Regions from separate parts of the Homo sapiens genome. Here region 2 is linked to region 1. The links are contacts of gene promoters, found by promoter capture Hi-C in blood cells and fetal thymus (Javierre and others, 2016). All regions are on one chromosome and are shown on one strand. Each heading gives the region's core, a stretch centred on a gene start or on the middle of the fragment in contact. The rest is flanking DNA. Distances are from core to core; before and after follow the strand shown.

What was found. The method cuts DNA at HindIII sites, captures the fragments that hold promoters and counts their contacts. A CHiCAGO score of 5 or more calls a contact.
Region 2: a fragment that was not itself captured here is called in contact with the fragment with the promoter of PLD5 in region 1 in 2 of 17 cell types (total B cells and naive B cells); the score reaches 6.6 in total B cells.

The regions. Positions count from the first base shown.
Region 1 is chr1:242,521,753-242,529,458 of GRCh38, forward strand. It overlaps PLD5 (phospholipase D family member 5), which reads right to left and starts at 2,945. Exons shown (of 10, transcript NM_001372062.1): 1 at 2,336-2,945. The coding sequence starts at 2,524. The HindIII fragment of the contact is 2,750 bases long and covers 1,136-3,885 here.
Region 2 is chr1:242,786,305-242,794,010 of GRCh38, forward strand. No RefSeq gene overlaps it. Among named protein-coding and RNA genes, the nearest start is that of PLD5, 270 kb to the left of the region's middle. RefSeq lists a silencer at 1,703-1,997. The HindIII fragment of the contact is 326 bases long and covers 2,705-3,030 here.

The DNA of each region.
Region 1 (7,706 bases), core at 1,695-4,194:
TATGAATCAGAAGGTACCATATATGTTCAGAATGTTGTTTACAATGAAGTCAACATTAGATTTTCATGCTTTCTGTAGCAATGATACCAGGTTACATTTGTTATAGGTTTTTGACATCTCAAACATTAATTTCTATTAGAAATTACCATCAAACTACCTGAAATATTATAGTGCATTCAACATGACGTATATTATAAACAACTAGCTCTTGAATTCAAAAAAAATTTATATTGTATACTAATTTAATTTTTCATAGCACTTTCTTTAATATTAATTCATTAAAAATGTTCGTGATGTTTCAAAGGAGCAAGAGAATACCACCAATAAATTTATTTAAAGCCCCATTTCTAATTGAAAGGGTGTGTAGAGAAAAACATCAGAATAGATATATGCATCTCTCATTAAATGTAGTTGAAAAAGTAAAACAAATGCTACACTGATTTAAATATCAAATGAGGAGAATGATTTTTTTAAAAATGTATGCAATGCTCTCTTTTGGAGTATCTGAGTGAAGAAGAAAGCATAGATGCTCACACGCTTTCAAATAACCACATCTTCCTTTCCCTGGTCTCCAATCCTCAGAGGAGGCTGAGCATCCCATACTCATGCAGAAAGGTGAGACTGCTGTGGCACACATGGTATGACTTGATACTTTCAATGAAAATCTAAAAGTGAGAAAGCATTTAAGTATAATGCGTGCACCGCTCATGACTCAAGACATAGTCATAGAAGGCTGCACCACTGATTTTCAGTAAGAGAATAAAGGAAATAGACCAGCTAAAAGCACAAACTGCAAAAGAACATACATTCAGAGTGAAACTAAAACGAAGATACGTTCTATCACCCTCCCAAGGCTAGACTGTTATCCCTGATACTAAAATCAGCCACATCATTGGTTGATTACATGCTCTTTGCATGTAATGCATAAAGATGCTGTTTGCCCCCTTTAAACTAATAACACCACCAGCCCCTTCACTAATTCTGGAGAGGGCATGTTTAATGGATACGTTGCCTTTCAAACAACTTGCCATCCTAGAAACCTTCAGCGACTTCCATAGTCTTAAGGATATGAGGCATCCCTTTGACATTAGCAAATGGCTCTCTACACATAAAATAGTGCTGTTATCCAACTCAAAGCTTCATATTAGAGCTTTCAGTGACTTCATCAGGCCCTCAGAAAGCAGGCACAGACCTTCCTTTCAGATTATTATAATAGAGAAATGCCCCTTCTTCGCGTGTTTCCTCCTGGGAAGAAGCCTGTTGGTGCTGCAGAGCCCAGGAGGAGTGCTTTGGGGGGCAGATGGGAAGCAGGTCGGTGCAGCAGTTGGAAATGCGTGAGTTCCAGGAGTTCTTGGTCTTATCTTTTTTATCATTGTTGGCGTCCTGACCCAAATACAAGGAAACCTCCACATTCCATTAGCAGACTCAATTTGGATTCTGCAGCTCTGCAGGGAGAAATAGCATCTTCTCCTTAGCTAGTTGTGCTGCACTCTTGAGATAATTCTCTTAGTTTAATTTTAACATTTGGTTTAAGAAGATGCTGATGGATCAAATTTGAAACTGTGGATCCACTAAACGCCTTTTTAGAAGGTTTTTTTTTTTTCTTTCAAAATAGCAAGCCTTAGGAGCTCAACTCCAGAGCCAATTCACTTCGCGTGAAGTCGGCACTCCTTGGGAGTAGAGGTCCCCTCTCACCGGCTCCCACCCTCCAGAGGGGAGGATTTCTGGGGAGCCCGACGATCCGCTCGCTTTTAGCCTTTCTCCTTGCAACGCGCAAATCTCTCCCTAGTTGGGCTCAAGTAGAGAGGATCACCAACTGCTCATCCCAGCGGACACTCTGCAAAAAACTCTAATGGCTTGTGCGCGGGTCCACGCTGGTCGCTAGCGGCGCCAACTTTACTCATTCGTTAATTTGCTAGTTTTTGGACTGAGTAAAACAGCCCCCAAAGACGCGGGCAAACGCCGCTCTAAAGCCCACTACCATGCAACGCCAGGTTGCTCGGAGCCACGCTGGTGGCACTTCCCCTTCGTGCTCACTCTGCACAGGCACCTCCAGAACCCCGTGCAAATGAACCCTACCGGGAGACGCAGGTGGGCAGGTCGGGTCGGCAGGGACCAAGAGCCTGAAAGGGAACCTGCCCTCCCCTCCCCGCAGCCCGGTCATTAAGGCAAGAAACTGCAGGCAGAGAAGCCCCCGAATCCGACCTAGGACGTCGGCGCCTGCCAGGATCCCCTCGCCTGCCCCCCGCGCCCCGCGCGCGCTCATGCCACCACCACGGGGAGGGTGCATGCGGCAGGTGCCTGGCCGAGGCCCCCGGGAGCGAGTCGCCCTTACGTGCTCCAGCTTGTCTTTCCTCCGAAGCCAGACGCTGGCGCTGTAGTCCTGCTGCTTGACGCTGCTGTAGAAGTTCGCGCCCACTCGGGTCAGGCTTGGGGAGGGCTCCTTGGGGCGGCTTTTGAGCCTCATCTGCTCGAAGCCCTCATGGGGGGAGGCCGAGAGCCACTCGTGCTGCCGGATCTCCATCCTGACATGACCGGGCGGCCGCCGGCGAGCAGCGGACTCGGGACGGGCGCGCGGGGAGCCGGGCGCGGAGGGCGAGCGGGAGGCCCAGCGGGAGCCGGAGGTGGAGCTGGAGACTGAGCTGGAGGAGCTGGAGGAGCGAGCGGGCGCGGGGAGCGCGGGGTGCTGAGCGCCAGCTGGGAGCGCGGCCGGGCGGGAGGGGGCGATCGCGGGAGGCGCGGGGCGGAAGGAGGGAGGGCGAGGTGCGGGCGGGGGCGGGGGCGGGGGCGGAGGGGGACGGACGGGGAGAAGGGGGACGAGAGGGGACAGGGAGGGAAAGGAACCTGCTCCGGGGAGACAGAAGTGCCCGGTGCGGCGGCGACGTCGCCCGGCGGCTGCGGTCCCGAGCGGGCGCTCCGCTCGCCGGCTCCTTGCGGCACCTACTGGGACCCGGGCCGGCTCCCGGGGCGGCGGCGGCGGCGGGGGTGGGGTGCGGTGGGAGGGGCCGCGGCTGGCCCAGCCAGCCCGCGCCTGCAGGTTGGTGCAGTGAGGAGCCGCCGCCGCCCCTCCCGCCGCGCCCAGGCCCGGGCGGCCGCGCTCCCGCTCCGCACCCGCCTTTCCCGAGCAGGCTACACCTCTCCCTGGCGCATCTTTACTGGAAAGCCGGCAGGCGAGGGGAGAAGTGAGCGCCGTCTCCGCGCCTCCTCGGTCCTGCTGGCTGAGCGCGGGGATGGCTCCGGAGGGAGACACTCAGGAAACCACCTCCGCCCTTCCCCCATCTCTATCCAGCGGCGCCCCCTCACCCTGCCCCCGGCTCGCTTGGGCTGCGCCTTCCCCCATTCTGAAAGTTCACTAACTTCCCACCCCAAGGGACTTAGAGCAGAGGGTGCCCAGCATTCCCCCCTGAAAATAGCCGAGAGACATGTGTTTTCTGGAGCCGTACACGCTACTTTCATCCGATGGTGTGGCGATGCAAATACGCCCGGGGGCAGTAGCCCCTCGGGCAGGCACGCGGGACCGGTTGCTCCCCAGCCCTCGGTGTCCACCTAGAACCGGGCTCCCCGGGCCGCACCCATTCCGATCCTGGGAGGGTGATCCAGGGCTCCTCTGCAACGCTCCGCTTGTGCGGTGACTGTTCCTTAGGTGGACGTGGCCCAACTGCTGTGCATTTGTTTCTTTTCTCTGTTTCTAGGCCCCTAGGGTCCAGGCTTTTCCTTCGGGGCCCAGCCAAGCGTGATGATTATTAGGAATAGGGTGGCTTGTTCGCGATTAAATCTTCAATCTCTTCATCTTTTGCTATCTTTGGAGTCAACCTCTCGAAACATTTTTTGGTTTTATCTAAATGCTAAACAGCTGGTGTTCAGGGTGTCTCGTGTCTGGTTAAAAGCTTGGGAAGTGTATGGAAGCTGGAGAGGTATACAGGGGATTTTAGAGGGTGTTGCCAAGGGTAAACTGAAGGCTCTCTAGCCCTCGGCAGAACTGCCCTACTTGAATGACGGTTTCAAAGACATTCTGGCTGGGATTTCACAAACTTTTAGGAGGACAGGGATTGTGTTTCATATCTTTTCAAAGTCTCCATTTAAAAAAATGGTATAGTAAAAATAGTAGTTGAAATAAAATCCTGTGCACATTCAATATGGGGATGAAACAACTAAACACAAATACACACATTTTGGTTGTGCTAGGTTGGTTTTCTTAGGAGCTGAACTATATTGTGCAATAGATGCCCCGACCTGTGGGCTATCTCTAAGTCTCATGTTATCCTGCAAGATAAATGTTATTAACCCTCCTTTCCAGTGAGGAAAGTGAAGCAGAAGCAGAAATTACACTTCAAAACAAGGATATGAACCAGATTGAAAAGCTGTGAAGGCCAGGCGGAGTGGCTCAGGTTTGTAATCTCAGCCCCTTGGGAGGAGGAGGCAGGAGGATCACTTGATCCCAGGAGTTCCAGACCAGCCTGGGCCTACACTAAAAATAAAATAAATTAGCCAGGCGTGGTGGTGCTCATCTGTGGTTTCAGCTACCTGGGAGGCTGAGGCGGGAGGATCGCTGAAGCCTGGGAAGAGGAGGCAACAGTGAGCCGATATCGCACTGCACCCTGGGCGACAGGGCAAGACCCTGTCGGAGGTGAGGCTGTGAAAACTATACATTCCATTGTATAGCATCTCTGATAATTTTGTTTGTTTGTTTTGTTTTGTTTTTGAGATGGAGTCTCGCTCTGTCACCAGGCTGGAGTGCAGTGGCGCCATCTCGGCTCGCTGCAACCTCCGCCTCCCGGGTTCAAGCGATTCTCCTGCTTCAACCTCCCGAGTAACTGGGACTACAGGTGCACGTCACCACGCCCAGCTAATTTTTGTACTTTTAGTGGAGACGGGGTTTCACCACGTTGGCCAGGCTGGTCTCTCAAGTGATCCGCCAGCCTCGGCGTCCCAAAGTGCTGGGATTACAGGCACGATCTGATTTTTTTATTATTACACTTTGCCCTACTATTCACTGTCCCCCAGTTTTTACTATTAAAGTTTAGCCTCCATAGCTTATGCTTTCTTTAAAGTATAACCACACAATTTAAATGACGACAAACAATTATACAGTCTTTTATAATATTGTTAACAGAAAGATGTTATTGCCCTTCTGCAAAGAATACCTCTGCCTTTTGCTGTATGAGATTAGGTATTTGATATAGCCAAACCTTGACAAGTGATAGATATCCAATTCAGAGTAATAATGAACTGTTCTACCATAGAAGAATTTAAACAAATGGTTTCCATATTGTGCCAGATTCTCAAAGTAAATAGATTTTTTTTAAACTATACCTTTATAGGACTATACATAGTGACTGCAGTAGTTGCTACTATCTCCTTCTTTTTTTTTTTTTTTTTTTTTTTTTTTTTTTTTTGAGATGGAGTCTTGCTCTCTCACCCAGGCTGGAGTGCGGTGGTTCCATCTCGGCTCACTGCAATCCCCACCTCCCAGGTTCAAGCAATTCTCATGCCTCAGCCTCCCAAGTTGCTGGAATTATAGGCATGCACTATCACACCCGGCTAATTTTTGTTATTTATTTTTAGTAAAGGCAGGGTTTCACCATGTAGCCCAGGCTGGTCTCAAACTCCTGACCTCAAGTGACCTGCCCGCCTCGGCCTCCCAAAGTATTGGGATTACAGGCGTGAGCCACCGCGCCCGGCCAATCTCTATTTTTTGAAGAAGGTACACTGGTGGCATAAATATGACAGCATACTACTGAATTGAGCATTATAATTAATTCATAGATCACATTTGTTATGATCAAAAATACTAGTCAAAATATAAATTTTTACAGTTTCATACTTACTTGGTATGCAGTGCCAGACTCAATGAACCCAACAAGTTCAAATAAACCTGGGCGCAGACTTATTCATAATTATTTTTCTATCTTGGATTCTTGTCCAAGTTAATCGTTTATGCCAGTAATATGGAACTTGCTTGTTGACCTTCAAAAGAATATTTCATATAAAATTGAACCCAACTGAAACTGTTGTAGGGAAGAAAAATAGTGTTTCTGAAGATGGCCAGGTATAATATGAGAATTTTGCACCAAAAATATTACTGAAATGTATAATTACTGAATTTCTACATTAACTTCCACAGCACTTTTTCCAGCACATTTTCATAGCCATTACATTTTCTGAATGCAACACAGGTGTTATGGACCATCCATCCTACTAGCCCATTCGCTTCTTGGGAGCTGGAGCCACTCCTGATTCTTTACCGTGCTGTTAGTGCCTTACATATAATAAGCTTCCAATAAACTATGGTGAATAAATGACTGAATGGGTGCTAACACTTGGCAACATGTTTTTGCTTCTTTATTTTGAAAAACACTGGATTTGACATTACAATATTTAGATTTTAGTACTAGATCCTTTAATTACTAAATTGTGACTTTCATGGTTTTCATTGTATTTCCATAGCCTTCAAGTTCATCCAGTAAATGGGGAATAATCATTGCTACCTCAAGTGATTGCTACAGGGATGACACATGAGAAATTTCTGTATAAACTATAGAGTCCAATGTTACTGTTCTTAGAACTTTCAGGCCCAGAAATATTCTTTATGTCATTCTAATAAGTTATCATTTTCATTAGCAGCTATATCAATTAATCCTGATTGCTTATAATTAATTATAGAAACTGCACTCAGCTACAAATTTGAATTCTATTGAATTCAAACCTAAACTTAACAGATGTCATTGACCAGGAATTGTTAATATTGTCTGAATTAGGCACTTTGCATTGTCATAAAATTTAAGACCAAAAGTATCAAGAAGTGGGAGTATTTTATTAAAACTTTCATAGTAATGATAATACCTTACATTTCCACAATAGTTACATCTGTAGCACATATCACATTTACTCCTTGGAAAAATATCTGAAAGTAGTCTTGGTACTTGCTATCAGTTCCATCTTTCGAAAGGAGGAAACCAAAGCTCATGGAGGTTAAATGACCTGCCCAAAGCCATGTAAGTCAGAGAGTCTGGTCAAAAAGCCAGGTTCATTGACTCTCAATAAAGGATTTCTTTTTTCACCATGTCCGATAAAAAAATCTCAAATATATACTTCTTAGCAATTATAAGTTGTATTTTTCACAGGTGTAGTGTTGCCAAGTATTACTACATTTTGTCAAAGGTTTACTACTGAAGAATAAAACATGTTAATACTTAGACCTTCCCTAACAGCATGCTTTATGTCCTCCTCAATTACCCTTATACTATACAAGACCACATAAAATCATTGACCCAAGAATGGCTCTATTCTTTGTTGTCAAGAAATAGATTCAACAGCTAAAAACAACATGACTTTCCTAACCACATATGTTAATTATAGGATTATTTCTGTAGAAACAATTGAATAATTTAATACCAGTAGAACAAAATTAAAGTAGTCCCAGATTGAAAATGTTTTCTGAAGAATACATAAGCATTAATATGAGAAGGGTCTTTTATGTTACAGTATTTTCTTTAGCCTCGTAGTTATTATTGATTAGTTATAAAATGACAATGAAGGTTTTTTAAATGTTACATATTTAATAAAGTGAACTTATCTATGTACAAACTTACTTTAGACTAAAGATTCTCATTGTTTGACCACCTACTCCAGTCACTGTGTGGGCTGGTCCTCAGAGGCATTATATCACTTTTTTCTCACAAAATCCTGCAAAGTAAACAGAGCCA
Region 2 (7,706 bases), core at 1,618-4,117, 260 kb after region 1:
CTCAATATTTCTACTTCCCGGCCAGGCGTGGTGGCTCACGCCTGTAATCCCAGCACTTTGGGAGGCCGAGGTGGGCAGATCACAAGGTCAGGAGTTCGAGACCAGCCTGGCCAATATGATGAAACCCCGTCTCTACTAAAAATACAAAAATTAGCCAGGCGTGGTGGTGTGTGCCTGTAATCCCAGCTACTCAGGAGGTTGAGGCGGGGGAATCGCTTGAACCCGGGAGGCGGAGGTTGCAGTGGGCCAAGATTGTACCACTGTACTCCAGCCTGGGTGACAGAGTGAGACTCCATCTTAAAAAAAAAAAATTCTACTTCCTTTCACAAAAACACCCCTCAAAATAGCTGTCCACACTCCATGTTTTCAACTGCTCTCATTCCCTTCTTAAATTCTTACCATGTAACATTTGATTAATGCAAGAGGATATCTGTAAATTATGAAGCATAATAATAAAATGAACACCAATGAAGCTTCTACTCCACTTAAAAACTGGAACATCACCAATTTCATTGCATTAACCTGTATGTTCCTTCTCTACCCCATCACTCTGCCTTTTCTTCTCCGAATGATAAAGCCACTATCTTATATTTTGTGTTTATCATTCCTTTCCATTTTATAAAGTTTTTATCCCACCTATCTGTATTCCTAAACAATACACATTAAAATTGAGGGGGCTCAGGTTTTGTTCGTTTTTCCTCCATGCTTTGAAGTCATTTTGTATTCAACATGTCCAGAAATTCCTAACCTTTTCCTTCACACTTCCCCCAGTCTCCTCAATCTTGCAACATCATCCTTCTAGCTGCTCAGACAGAATTAATTTTTTCACTTATGACTCCTCTATCTTGTAAAACATATCCATATCAGTAAGTCCTGTGGGTTCTCACTTCAAAATATACTCAGGATCCAACCACGCCTCATTGCCACTGCTTTCGCCCAGGTTCAAGCCACCATCATCTCTCATCTGGATTATTGAAAGTTCCACTGATGTGCACGCCTGCTTCACCCTTTCCCTTGCCCCCGCATTCACCTATAGTTTACTCTCCGCACAGCAACCAGAGTGATTATCTGGAACTCCGTGTCAGAGCACCTTAACCCTTCAACTCAGCACTCTGCAGCGGCTTCTATCTCAGGCAGAGTAGGAATCTACAAGGCCCTACGTCACACCCTGGACAGTCCCCACATCCCACACACAACTCTCCTGCTGTTTCCTTAGGGTCGCTCCCTCTAACCATCTGGCTCCTTGAACAAGCCAGTGCACTGCTGTCTCCAGGCCTTTCTTTGCTCATGCTGTTTTTCGTCTTACTTGGGAGGCCTTTTTCCTTGCACATGCCCTCTTCCTCAATGGCTCTCTCTCTCACCTCCTTCTCTTCTTAAATATCATCTTATCAGGGAGACCTCCTCCACTGCTCTGTTTAAAATAGTACTCTTATGCCCACCAGCACACTCTATCCCATTCTCCAGCTTTATTCTTCTCCATAAACACTTATCACATTCTGACATACTGTAACTTTTGCTTGTTTCTTTGTTTATTGCCTAGCTTCCCGCACTACACTATAAGCTCCTTGAAGGCAAGGGTTTTTGTCTATATCGTTTAGTGCTCTATCCCCAGCAATGCCTAGAAAATACTAGGTTCAACAAAGATTTATTGAATGAATGAATGGATGTAAATAATCTCCTCACTTCCTCACTTTTGCCCGCTACCAGTATCCCATCCCCAACTGCATAACATAGCTCCTCTTACCTATCCCTAAACAAACTCCAGCTCAAATCAAAATTATGCCCATGACAGAGCCCCAGGGACTTTTAGGTGGTAATTACAGGCTTTCTCTCTCTGCCTTTCCTCAGAGCCACAGGAGACGTGCTCCAAATTTTTGCCTCTTTCTCCTTAACATCCCTGAAGGCTGAGTCATAGCACTGGAAGCTTTAGAATGTGTTCTTGCACACTGAAGGTAAAACACTATTTCTCCAAAAGTCATTACCTATTTGTCTTCCATCACTGACATAGGCCATTGTTGATTATAAGGATATTAAAGCCTGAAGCCTAAAGGCCTATGGGTGAAACATTCAATTTTTCAGTGTTATTTTGTTATTTTAAGAGCCTGTGTGACAGACATATTTAGGCTTAATAGTACCCTTAGGAAAATAAAAAGGAAAAGGCAAGATTCTATTTACTGTATATCCTTCCTCTTTCTTGGAAAATCTCACATTACATCGGAAAAACCTAAATTACATGAAGTTTACAAAATTGATTGCCTCATGAATAAACGGATTTATTATTTAAGATGCTGAGGAGCACATTTCATTATTCAGTATCCTTGGAACAAAATATTTGAAATGTGGGATGAAAAATTTTCAAGCTGCTTCGCTAAATGAGGTAGACCAAAAAGAACATCCACACATTAACATAAAACATTCATCAGGAGATCAGCTGGCAATGTGATGAAGAGAAATGGCTACATTTTTTAATTTCTAATCAGTCCCATTAAATGTGTGGCTTGTGGCCACTTTTACTGTACTGTACTGTGGAACTCACCTCAGATCATGAAGCCTGTATTTAAAGATTTTATAAACTATCCACTAGAAGGAACTAGAACCTTCTAAAATGATGAGGAAGATATGCATGACCAAACACCTTAAAAACCAATTAGTTTCATTACCTGTTTGGTTCAAGCATTGAAGTTCAATATTTCTGTAACCCACAAGCTTTCCACAAATACAGCAACCGAGAAACACTGTTTCAATTTTTAACGGTCTTGCCCAGTTCATATTTCCTGGCTTATCTCTGAACTCCCCTCATCTCCTCTCCCTAAGTCTGTTTATGATGTGCTGTTTTATCAAGGTCAAATTCCATGGGCAAGTCATCGGCTTCATCATTTGTCTCATAACATTTTCAATAAATGTTAGACCCTCAGGGTCTTTAAGACAATGTGAGATACATATATATATACATCTATGTTTACTTTAGAGAAAAACAGCAGGGGTTTCACATCTCACTGATTTTAGAACTAAGTATAGTGAAGGGAAAAAAGCTTAAAATAGGATTTTCAATCTGGAAGGAACATTTTGATTTTTCCAGCTAACTCCTTCCTTTGATAAATAAACTCAGAGAGGTAAAGTGATTTTCTTAATGTCAAACAGCCAGTTCGTTGCTGCACTAGAATTGGAACTGAGATATTTGACTTCCAGTCCTGGTTTTTATCATCATTTTTTGAAGTGGTGATCTGCATAATTTACCAATGTCTTCCTTATCCCCACATTAAGTTAGGCATCAAATCTTCAATGTATTTATTTTCTGGTCTTTCCTCCCCAGTGCTGGCACCACTGCCTGCTCCAGCCCCTCACTGTCTCCTTCTGGATACTGCGGGGTCCCTCTGCCCAGCTGTCCTGCCACAGACCCCCTCATACCAGCTGCTTCTCCATGAGGCTGCGAAATTACTCCAGCTAAAAGAACAACTCAGATCACAACTGCTTAAAAACTTCATTCGGCTTCCTATTGTCTCTAAAATCAAGTCCAAGCTCTTTGCCCTCTTTTACAATGTTCTTTGCAATTGTCTGGATCTCCAGCTCCCCCATGCCATCTCCACAAACTCTACTTTAGTCTTAGGGAGTATTTCATGTTCCTTTCCCCTGCCCACCATGGTTTTTGACATTCCTTGTTGAATTAGTCCGTTCTCACACTCCTATGAAGAAATACCTGAGGCTGGGTAATTTATAAAGAAAAGAGGTTTCACTGACTCACATTCCACATGGCTGGGAAGGCCTCAGGAAACTTACAATCACGACAGAAGGCACTTCTTCACAGGGCAGCAGAAAAGAATGAGTACAAGCAGGGGAAATGCCAGATGCTTATAAAACCATCAGATCTCATGAGAATTCACTCACTATCATGACAACAGCATGAGAGAAACCGCCATGATTCAATTACCTCCCACTGGGTCCCTCCCATGACATGTGGGGATTACGGGAATTATAATTCAAGATGAGATTTGGGTGGGGACACAGCCAAACCATATCACTTATCTATCTGGAAATACATCCTGTTTGTTTGATTACTGGGAAATCCCTAGTCATCCTTAAACAGCCATTCACTTCCTCTTAGCTTTTGTAACACTTTGGGAAAGTGTCAAGCCCACCTTGGTTCCTTCAATAATCTCTGCTGGTCCCCAGTCCCTCTCTCCAGCATGACTTGCTGGGCCACGCCTAACTTGCCCTGCCCACTGCATTAGCTCAGACCTGGCTCTGCCTCCTAGGGTGATTTTGCCTGTTCAAGACTCAGAATGTTTGGTTTCTTGATTCTCATGGCAATCTTTTTTCTTAACACTGGGTCTCTATAAATAATCATGTGTTATGACCTCCCTTGTTATCCATCCAAGACCCTGGCCATTTGCACCCAACAATGACTTCTCACACTAGGAATGTGCTCCCAAAGGCAGCTCACAGCAGGCCTGACCCATTGACCCAGGAGGATAGACAGTAAAAAGATTTATGTAGAACTTCTCATTCTGCAATGATGCAAAGTGCTTGCATGTTTGTCTACCTCTTTAAACAGTGAATTACTTAAGGTCAGAGACTATGTCTTCTTAATCTTTAAATGCCAATGTCTAAAACAGTGCCTGACATATAGCAAGCATTCAATAAATATATGAATGGGTGCAAGTGATAATGGTAACAATAAAGCCCAGTGAAGTGAACAGAAAGTTAGATGGGAAGTCATTACATTCCTGGACCAAAGAAGTTCATTCTGAAGAATAAATGGTGTAATATTATGATTTAGATAATAGAAATCAGATTCAGATACTAATTTATTTTATTATAATAAAATGCAATACAGTTGACCCTTGAACAAGAGGTTAGAGACACCAGCTCCCTGTGCAGGTGAAAATCCATGTATAACTTTTGACTCCCCAAAAGCTTAGTTACTGATCGCCTACTGTTGACTAGAAGCCTGACTCGTAACATAGTCAAGTAATACACATTTTATATGTTATGTGTATTATATACTGTACTCTAACAAAAAGTAAGCTGAAGAAAGGAATATGTTATTAAGAAAATCGGAGGGAAGTGAATATATATTTACTGGTTATTAAGAGGAAGTGGATCATCATAAAGGTCTTCATCTTCATTATCTTCACATTGAGTAGACTGAAGAGAAAGAGATGGGGTTGGTCTTGCTGTCTCAGGGATGGCAGAGGCAGAACAAAATCTACGTGCTAGTGGACCTACACAGTTCTAGCCCACGTTGTTCAAGGATCAACTGTAATTACAAGAGTAGACCATTGAGTTACATGCTCATTTCATCTGTCTGCATCAGCTAGGTTTTGCCGTGGTGACTAACAACCCCAAACCTCAGTGGCTTAAAGCAACAAAGATTTCCCATTCATTTTGCATGCCTCATGCGGGTGGATAAGGGAGCTCTGTTTATCAGAGTCACTCTGGGACTCAGTCTGATGAAGGCTTTATCTTAAAAAGTGTTTTCATGATGGCTGGAAAGTCGTGGACCAATGATTTCCACCCAAACCCATTTGCTAGAACCAGTTCCATGACTATGACTCACTTCAAAGAGACATGAAAAACAATCCTAATGCACTGAAAGGAAAGGGAAGCTGGATAGCAGTGAAGCGGTCATGTCTACCACATTCCACCCCACGGGTCACTACATACTCAGTTCTTCCTTCCCCGTGCAGAGCACACTTGCCCTGTCACATCTCTGCTCCAGCACTGCACAGTGGGTAAATGTGTGTTGGTGGTAGGGGAGGGAGTGAGAGCCTATCTTTTCAGCTCATACGTTTCTAGTTCAAGAGGAATTACATCTGACCTGACGTAGAAACAAATGTTTATTACCCACTTGTGTTAGTTTCTTAGGGCTGCTGTGACAAAGCACCACAAACTGAGTGGCTCAAAACAACAGATATGTATTGTCTCACTGTTCTGGACACCAGACAGCTGAAATCAAGGGTCAGCAGGGCCACATGCTCTCTGAAGCTTAGAGGGATAATCCTCCTTTCTCCCTCCCTGGCTCTGATGGTTTTCCAGTGAGCCTCAGCATTCCTTGGCTTGCAGCCCCAGCACTTTAATCTCTGCTTTTATTGTCACATGACATTCTTCCTTTGCATCTATCTCTTCTACTCTTCTTATAAGGACACCAGTCATTGGATTAAGACCACCCGAATTCAGTATGGCCTCATCACAACTTGATTACATCTGCACAGACCTTATTTCCAAACAAGGTCACATTCACAGGCACCAGGGATTAGGATTTCAACATATCTTTTTACTGGACACAATTCAACTGATAACACCTTCCACCTTCCGCTCCCTAATATAACCCCTCATATAGGCACTGTTGCCTGTCACCCAGAAATCATGAATTTTGAGCTCTGTGCCATGACTGGACAAGACTTTTGTGTTGATTCCCTTAGGAAGGATATTTATGTATTCTGTATGAGTGAAGGAGATTGAGCCAAATATTTGGTGTCTAGATGGCGGGCTACGGTAGATATTAGAGATCCCCACCAATATTACCAGTTGTCTTCCATCCAGTCAAACAATAAGAATAGAACTCCCTGCTCCCATGAAACTAGATGTGACTATGAAACTTGCTTTAAGCCAATGTAATGTGAACAGAAGTGATACATTTTATTTCTGGATACTAAAATTTAAGAAGCAAGGTATAATTTTCCACTTTTTCTTTATCTTCCATGTTGGCAAGTAACTTTCCAGATTGTGAAAATTATGTAATAAAAGTCCTTATGTGAAGACAGCATTAAGAATCCTGCCAAACTGACTTGTACTGAACATGTAGCATGAGTAATAAATGAATCCTGATAACAGTAAGACATTGAGTTGTACATGTATACACCCTATGACACAGCAGTTTCATGCATACATCAGAAAGATTCTTGCACATGTTCATTAAGGAAACATGCACAAGTATTTTAGTTAATAATATTATTTGCAGCAATAAATGGCAATCAGCTCAAATGCTCACCAATTGTAGGTTGAAATAAATAAATAACTTTTATATACATAAACTGAACAACATACAGCAATGAAAATGAATGGATTATAAACACAAATATCAATATGGATAATTTTTAAAACATCATATTAAGCAGTTATAGAAAATCTACATAGGTTTGATTGCAATTCTATAATTCAGTCAGAATTAATCGACATATTGCATAGGGATATAAAAATGTATAGTAATAACAGTGGAAAACACCAGGGAACAAAATTCAGCTAATTACTACCTCTGGTGGATATGAAGTATAATGCAATTGAAGAATGCACACAGAGAGCTCCTACAGTATAATTCATTTTCTAACATTGTTTGCAGGCACATGATATTTGTTTTATTATTGGTCTTCAAACCCCACATATATGCTTTTATGTACTTTTTGCAATCTATACTTCACAACTGTTAAAAATAAAGCAAATCTTAAGTAAAAATATATGTTTTATATATATAAGAATATATATTATATATATTCTTATATATAAAAATATATATTATATATATTCTTATATATAATTATATATAATATATATTTAAATATAAATATATAATAAATATAAATATATATTTTATATAATATATTTTATGTATTTATATATAATATATTATATATAATATATATTTTATATTATATTATGTATATTATATTATATATATTATATTATATTATATATATTTTATATATTAT